Regions from separate parts of the Homo sapiens genome. Here all the other regions are linked to region 1. Evidence: promoter capture Hi-C in 16 types of primary human blood cells and fetal thymus (Javierre and others, 2016). All regions are on one chromosome and are shown on one strand. Each heading gives the region's core, a stretch centred on a gene start or on the middle of the fragment in contact. The rest is flanking DNA. Distances are from core to core; before and after follow the strand shown. Region 1 holds the start of BOLL (boule RNA binding protein). Region 2 has its middle 47 kb from the start of GTF3C3. Region 3 has its middle 64 kb from the start of GTF3C3.

The links. The method cuts DNA at HindIII sites, captures the fragments that hold promoters and counts their contacts. A CHiCAGO score of 5 or more calls a contact.
Region 2: a fragment that was not itself captured here is called in contact with the fragment with the promoter of BOLL in region 1 in 4 of 17 cell types (total CD4 T cells, activated CD4 T cells, naive B cells and 1 more); the score reaches 8.3 in total CD4 T cells.
Region 3: a fragment that was not itself captured here is called in contact with the fragment with the promoter of BOLL in region 1 in 1 of 17 cell types (total B cells); the score reaches 5.4 in total B cells.

The regions. Positions count from the first base shown.
Region 1 is chr2:197,783,715-197,786,662 of GRCh38, reverse strand. BOLL (boule RNA binding protein) reads left to right here and starts at 1,344. Exons shown (of 11, transcript NM_033030.6): 1 at 1,344-1,607. RefSeq lists an enhancer at 1-168. The HindIII fragment of the contact is 5,410 bases long and covers 1-2,948 here.
Region 2 is chr2:196,751,755-196,754,454 of GRCh38, reverse strand. No RefSeq gene overlaps it. Among named protein-coding and RNA genes, the nearest start is that of GTF3C3, 47 kb to the left of the region's middle. The HindIII fragment of the contact is 3,642 bases long and covers 1-2,700 here.
Region 3 is chr2:196,734,551-196,737,302 of GRCh38, reverse strand. No RefSeq gene overlaps it. Among named protein-coding and RNA genes, the nearest start is that of GTF3C3, 64 kb to the left of the region's middle. The HindIII fragment of the contact is 303 bases long and covers 1,245-1,547 here.

The DNA.
Region 1 (2,948 bases), core at 95-2,594:
AGCGGCGTCCGCGGCTTCTCGGGAGCCCCCGAGTTTTGCGAGTCAGGCCCCGAGAGTCAGAGTTTGACTCTAGAACCTTCTTCGCTTTACACCAGTCTTCGGAAGTCGCCCGTCAACCGGCTTCTTCTACCTCAGTAAAGCCTTAAGGTCACCTCAACCTCTCGAAACCCACCAGTCCCAGAGGCCGACTCTTCTCAAGTGGAGGAGAGGGGAAGGCGTGCATGGAGCTTTGCCTGACCGCTCGCTCTCTCCTCCCCAGCCGTCTGAGAGAAGGCGAGAGGGGTCCCAGAACCGAGCCCTCGCTCCGCACGCCCCACGCCCGCCCCGCTGTGCCGTGCGCTCTGCCCCTGAGACGCCCCGGCTCGGAGTCCCAGGGCCACAGCCGAAACTCGCCCTCCCGCGCCCCTCTCCGGCTTGCAGCGCCCGCCCGCACCGCCACCTGCCACCCGAGGCGACGCAGTCCGCTTCTCCCCACCCGCCAGGTGGCAGGTTCAGGGCCGGGGTCCGAGCCTGCTTCCCTGCAGCTGCCACAGCCACCCTCGCCGCCAGGGGGCGAGAGTCCCAGGCAGGACAAGCAGCGCTGCTGCCTTGGCGTGAAGGTGGTTTCAAACTTTAGGCTTCTTTTCCCTACCCCGCGTCTCTGAAGAGCAGAGAGGAAGATGGAAACCGAGTCCGGGCCGGTGAGTACGGCGATCAGGGCCCCAGGGCGCGGGATAGCGGGGAGAAGGAGCAGCGTGGAGCCTGTCCCTGAGGGCTTGGAGGGGCGAGGTGAAGGCCCCAAACGCTCGCTATCTGGTTGGGAAGAAACGTGGCCAGGTGCCCCATCGACCGCTGCCAGGAGCCACCCGCCCGCAGACCTCGTCTGGCTGTGTCATGGGGGTCAGAAAGGCGCCGCCACGGGGCCTGGACTGGGTGTAGACGGGCCAGGGGACCTCAGGCGTGGATGTTTCGGGAGGCGGCGGGCTGCCAGGCACCCAGCGAAGTCCGAGCAGGTAAACCGCTTTCCCGCCGAAATTGGGCTAGGCAGCGTCTTTGACGCTCCCTGCGGCCGAACTCGACCCAGCCGCCCAAGGCGAGGAGTTGCCAGGGCGGTCGACGCCTCCACTCCCCGACTGGTCAGCGAGGACCGGAAGGTCTGAGAGACCTGGCAGGGCCCGCCTGTGGCCCAGGCGGGACCCGGACACTCTAGCCCTGGCTGTGCACCCAAGCCAGTCAGGGTGGACTTGGGGAAGTGAAGGAGGACTGCCCGCACAGGCCCGAGGCGCAGCGGCAACGTGCCATCCCGCCCCGCCCCGTCCCGCCGCCAGCAGCCAATCAGGGAGCGCCGCGCGAGGGTGGGGACCAGCTGCGCACGAGGCCAGCGGCGGGGTCGCTGCCGTTGAGGCTTCCCGCCACTGCTGCTGGCGGATTTGTGGGGCAAAATTTCTCGCTGGCTAGCCTTCTTTTCCCTCCCGCACTTTGGTGGGGAGGGGGTGGATCCTCGTTTCGGTGCCCAAGTTCACGATGACCCGAGAGAACTCGAGGAAGTTGTCGCCGCGGCCATTTCCCCCAGTGCCGCAACTTGCTGGCCTTGGAGGGGGAGGAGCGCCGAGGCAGTGACTGCGACGGTTAGCCCGCCCGTTCCTGCTGTCTTCGTTTGCAAAATAGATGCTAGATCTCGAGGTTGATTCTCAAGGGGAGGGGCCAGTGAGGGCACATTGCTTTGGAGGAGTAGTTTAATAAACTCTCTAGTGCTGGAAGTTTTAGCAAACGGAGGAGCCTTCAAACCCGGCAACAGTCCCCATCTAGGTGTTTCCGTAACACATGCGGAATTATTGCTAGTGGAATTTCAGGCTTTCTTTGTTGTTTAACTCAATGCATCGCTAATTGTTTATAATGAACTTAGATGTTGCCTCCACCTGAGCCTTGCTATTGCTAACATTAAAATATTTTGTAGGCCTGGCGCGATGGCTCCCGCCTGTAATCCCAGCACTTTGGGAGGCCAAGGTGGGCGGATCACGAGGTCAGGAGATCGAGACCATCCTGGCCAAAATGGTGAAAACCCATCTCTACTAATACAAAAAAATTAGCTGGGCGTGGTGGTGCGCACCTGTAGTCTCAGCTACTCAGGAGGCTGAGGCAGGAGAATCTCTTGAACCAGGGAGGCGGAGGTTGCAGTGAGCCGAAATCACGCCACTGCACTCCAGCCTGGCGACAGAGCAAGACTGTCTCAAATATATATATATATATATATATATATATATATATATATATATATATATATATATATATGTATTAGACTGCTGTTATACTGTATTCTTTAGCCTTCAGCCTATTTGGCATATCATGAGCAGGTCTCTCCTGAAGAAATGATTCACTTTTAGTCATTCAACAGATATTTATTGAGCACCTGCTGTGTACTGTCAGTACTTTAGATGCTGCCATGAAAAAAGCAAAACTTCTGCCCTGGTGCATTACATAATAGTGGAGACAGATAATAAACATACTAAGTAAACTATATCGTATGTTAGAAAATGATGAGGGAGAAAACTTAAGCAGAGCGAGCCCACAATAGAGCCTTAGAGAGTGGAGGAGAATGAAGTGAATTGAGTGTGAAAGGTTGTTTTTCTTTTCTCAGGGAGTATCCTTTAGTTTCTCGAGATTGGAAATAAAGCACTGTTTACTTCCGTTCATTTCATCCTTCTCTCAATGAAATATAATGGGGTTTGTCTTTTACTTAAACTTGCGAACATATTAGTACATCTTATTTTCAATAAGAGAATTTCATGAAGAATGATTTTTTAAATTTAGCAAATAGGTAATTTTGACACTGTAAACAAATGGGCAGAAAGACAAGATTACATCTACTAGAGCTGTTATATTATCTCTAGCAATACAAAATCCATAGTTGAAAAATACTAAGCATTCCAGAATTACCCATTCTGAGCATTATATCCTACTGAGCGAAG
Region 2 (2,700 bases), core at 25-2,524, 1.0 Mb after region 1:
GCATTCCTATACACAATAACAGACAAACAGAGAGCCAAATCATGAGTGAACTCCCATTCACAAGTGCTACAAAGAGAATAGAATACCTAGGAATACAACTTATAAGGGATATGAAGGACCTCTTCAAGGAGAACTACCAGCCACTGCTCAAGGAAATAAGAGAGAACACAAACAAATAGAAAAACATTCCATGCTCATGGACAGGAAGAGTCAATATCATGAAAATGGTCATACTTCCCAAAGTAATTTACAGATTCAATGCTATCCCCATCAAGCTACCATTGACTTTTCACAGAATTGGAAACAACTACTTTAAATTTCATATGGAACCAAAAAAGAGCCCACATTGCCAAGATAATCCTAAGCAAAATGAACAAAGCTGAAGGCATCATGCTACCTGACTTCAAACTATACTACAAGGCTACAGTAACCAAAACAGCATGGTACTGGTACCAAAACAAATATATAGACCAATGGAACAGAACAGAGACCTCAGAAATAACATCACACATCTACAACCATATGATCTTTGACAAACATGACAAAAACAAGCAATGGGGAGAGGATTCCCTATTTAATATAATGGTTTCGGGAAAACTGGCCAGCCATATGCAGAAAGCTGAAACTGGATCCCTTCCTTACATCCTTACATCTTATACAAAAATTAACTGAAGATGGATTAAAGACTTAAACATAAGACATACAACCATAAAAACCCTAGAAGAAAACCTAGGCAATACCATTCAGGACACAGGCATGGGCAAACACTTCATGCTAAAACACCAAAAGCAATGGCAACAAAAGCCAAAATAGACAAATGGGATCTAATTAAACTAAAGAGCTTCTGCACAGCAAGAGAAACTATCATCAGAGTGAACAGGCAACCTACAGAATGGAGAAAATTTTTGCAATCTACCCATCTGACAAAGCACTAATATCTACAAAGAACTTAAACAAATTTACAAGAAAAAAAGAGCCCTATCAAAACCTGGGTGAAGGATATGAGCAGACACTTCTCAAAAGAAGGCATTTATGCAGCCAACAAACATATGAAAAAATGCTCATCATCACCATTATTAGAGAAATGCAAATCAAAACCACAATGAGATACCATCTCATGCCAGTTAGAATAGCGATCAATAAAAAGTCAGGAAAGAACAGATGCTGGAGAGGATGTGGAGAAATAGTAACACTTTTACGCTGTTGGTAGGAGTGTAAATTAGTTCAACCATTGTGGAAGACAGTGTGGTGATTCCTTCAAGGATCTAGAACCAGAAATACCATTTGACCCAGCAATCCCATTACTGGGTAGATACCCAAAGGATTATAAATCATTCTACTATAAAGACATATGCACACGTATGTTTACTGTGGCACTGTTCGCAATAGCAAAGACTTGGAACCAACCCAAATGCCCATCAATGATAGACTGGATAAAGAAAATGTGGCACATATACACCATGGAATACTATGCAGCCGTAAAAAAATGAGTTCATGTCCTTTGCAGGGACATGGATGAAGCTGGAAACCTTCATTCTCAGCAAACTATCACAGGGACAGAAAACCAAACACTGCATGTTCTCACTCATAGGTGGGAGTTGAACAATGATAACATATGGACACATGGAGGGAAACATCACACACCTGGGCCTGTTGTGGAGTAGGGGGCTAGGGGAGGGATAGTATTAGGAGAAATACATAATGTAGATGATGGGTTGCTGGGTGCAGCAAACCACCATGGCACATGTATACCTATGTAACAAACCTGCATGTTCTGCACATGTACCCCAGAACTTAAAGTATTTTAAAAAAAAAGACAGTGCTCCAACTTTGTGCTGGGAGCAAGTGTGATCACCTGTCAGGCCTTGGGGAAGCCAGCAAATCCCAGAGCAGCCTTTACCATTCATCTCAGCATACCTTACATATAGTGCTGTGTATTCTGTGTGCCACGAAACGAAAAAGTTTACCTTCGAGTTGCAGACTAAAGCCAGCTTTGGAATGAGTGAAAAACAATTCACATTAACTCTAGGAAATTTTTAAAGGCCAAAAATATCTTGATAATTTCAGCTGCTAAGTAACAGGATAGGTTTTTTCCCCCTCTCCTCAATATCTTTTCTCTTCCTATTCCCATTGTTTTCCTAGAGGGTCTCTCTGGTAAGCCCGAGAGAAAAGAGATGGTAAGGCGCTAACACACTGAAGTTCTGCTGCAAGTGTCAATGTTAACAATATAAAGGTCTGTTTGTCTTGCAGATAATTTACATGGAAAGGCCTAAAGTTTTCCTCCTAGGATGCACAGGACCTGTAGGAACCAAGTTAGCCTCTCCAGGGGAGAAAGAAAAAAACTGCGTGCCTCCTTGTGTACATAGCCATAATTCCTGGATTGTAGGGTACATGCATTTGAACACAGTACATGCTGCCACGATGCCCTCCCAAATGGCTGTATCAGTTGTGTGAGGATACCTGTTTCCCCACGCTTGCTTCAAACTTCATATTTTTGTCCCAACAGATATGTGAAAAATAATTGTTTCATTTGCATACTGGTTAAGTTGAAATCTATCTTTTCATATATTTATAAACCTTTTGGATTTTTCTTTCTTCTCTGGATCGCTTTTGAGATTCTCTGCCAATTTTTAAAAAATTGGATCATATTTCTTATTGAATCATAGGCATTCTTATTCTAGTATTAAGCCTTTGTCACTT
Region 3 (2,752 bases), core at 147-2,646, 1.0 Mb after region 1:
ATGCTGGCAAGGTGGTGGAGAAAAAGGAAAGCATTTACACTGTTGGTGGGAATGTAAATAGTTCAACCACTGTGGAAGAGAGTGTGGCAATTCCTTAAAGACCTAGAGGCAGAAATACCATTTGACCCAGCAATCCCATTACTGGAAACATACCTAAAGGAATATAAATCATTCTGTTATAAAGATTCATGCACGTGTATGTTCACTGCAACACTATTCACAATAGCAAATACATGGAATTAACCCTAAATGCCCATCAAAGAGAGGAGTAAACTCTCTTTACTGGTTTAAGCTTATATAGTTGTGATTTAGCTATCATATGCCTCTTATAACAAATATAAGCTTTACTAGAAATGATCATCAATCTAATTATGTCTTTCTCCCAATCTAGTATAGCCAATCTATACTATAAAGAAAATGTGGTACATATATACCATGGAATACTATGCAGCCATGAAAAGGAATAAGATCATGTCCTTTGCAGGGACATGAAGTTGGAAGCCATTATCCTCTGCAAACTGACACAGAAACAGAAAACCAAACACCATGTGTTCTCACTTATAAGTGGGAGCTGAATGATAAGAACACATAGACACATGAGTGGCAACAACACACACTGGGACCTATAGGGGGCAGGGTAGGGGGAGAAACAGCATCAGGAAGAATAGCTCATGGATGCTGGGCTTAATACCTAGGTGATGGGATGATCTGTGCAGCAAACCACCATGGCACATGTTTACCTATGTAACAAACCTGCACACTCTGCACATGTACCCCTGAACTTAAAATAAGAGAAAAAAAAAAACACCTTCAAATAGACACTTGCTAAAATCCTCTATAAAACAACCTATCACAGAACGAAAAAATTTGCCACAATATTAATCACTGATAGAAACTTTTTTAGCATGGCAAAGGATGTGGCCAGATAATGTTTCATCTGTAATGAAATTAATTTGGAAAAATTATAAAGGTGGGGTATGAACTAGAACCATACCCTAAAAGACTCTTTGAGTACATCCAAATGGATTGTATATAACTACTTGATTCTGTGTGTGTTATATACAGTAATAATGGTATATTTATTTTCTGGATGAATGGAAACATTCCCTTGTCAAAAAGCTAGCACTTAAAATGGCTAAAAAAGGATTCGAGTTTGTGTTTCCCACCAAGGATATTACATCTATCTAATAATACAGGGACACATTAAGCTGGAATGGTTTTTCATGATTTGAATTATACAAGCTTTGCTTTTTAAATGAACCCTTATTGCTCATATCACTTCAATCCTCTGGAAAAACAGAAAAGGTCTTAATAGAATCAGAAAGTTATACCCATTAGAGATTCCAAAGTTCTGTGAAGGGCTTTCAGAAGCAAATGATCTGCAGAAATTGACTGCCAACCCAAAAGCCTCAGAACAAGCAGATAACCACACAAAACAGGCAGCTTTGGCCTAAGACCATCCAAACAAGATTCTTCTGTCACATTCTCTTAACATACCTTTGTCTGTTATTCTGTTGGTCATACTCCTCTCTTTACTGGTTTAAGCTTATATAGTTGTGATTTAGCTATCATATGCCTCATAACAAATACAAGCTTTACTAGAAATGATCATCAATCTAATTATGTCTTTCCCCCAATCTAGTATAGCCAATCTAAAAATAACATAAAGGTATGTTAGATTAACTTTATCAATAATGATACCCTTTGAGGACAATACATAAGTGAAGAAAAAAGTCCTTGTTCTGGAAAAGGAGGATATAAATATTCTTGGCATATAACTGTGACTGTCATGACAACATAAGCGGTAATACATTTACAATCCATTAAGGTTGATCATCTCCCTTGTGTAGTAACTGGGATCCTTTTCCTTTGTGGAATTCAGCACCGAGGTTTTCAGTGCCAACCCTGGACCAAGGTTAATTATTCTGGGGGGCTCCTGGTTAGGCTGTTTTAAGGTTATAATTCCCCAATACCCTCAATTGACTATATATCTTTATAAAGAGCCCAAAGGGATAAATCCCTTTTTGGGGAGACTCCTGTGTTAGTCCATTCTCACACTGCTATACAGAACTACCTGAGACTGGGTAATTTATAAAGAGGCTTAATTGACTCACAGTTCCACAGGCTGTACAGTAGGCATTGGCTGGGGAGGCCTCAGGAAACTTATAATCATGGCAGAAGGGCAAAGGGGAAGCAAGCACATCTTCACATGGCAGTAGGAGAGAACAAGTGAACAGGGAGATTCTACACACTTTTAAACAACCAGATCTTGTGAGAAGTCACCCACTATCACAAGAACAGCAAGGGAGAAAACTGCCCCCATAATCCAATCACCTTCCACCAGGCCCCTCCTCCTCCAACACTGGGAATTACAATTCAACATGAGATTTGGGTGGGGACACAGAGCCAAACCATATCAACTCCTATGGATAGTGACCTATCCCATAGGAGTTTGACAACTTGAGGAGACCATAAAAAATGTGTTCTTTCACTTTAGCTGACCCAGTAAATAACACAGCCCAACCCTTGGAGACACAGCAAACAACTTAAATTTTTCATAACCAGGCGTCTTCTTAGTCTGTCTCTGCTGCTATAACAAAACAGTTGAGACTGAGTAATTTATAAAGAACAGACATTTACTTCTTACAGTTTGGGAGGCTGGGAAGTCCAAGATCAAGGTGCTTGCAAATTTCATGTCAAGTGAGGATCCCGTTCCCTATTTCTAAGATGGCACCTTGTTGCTGTTTCCTCC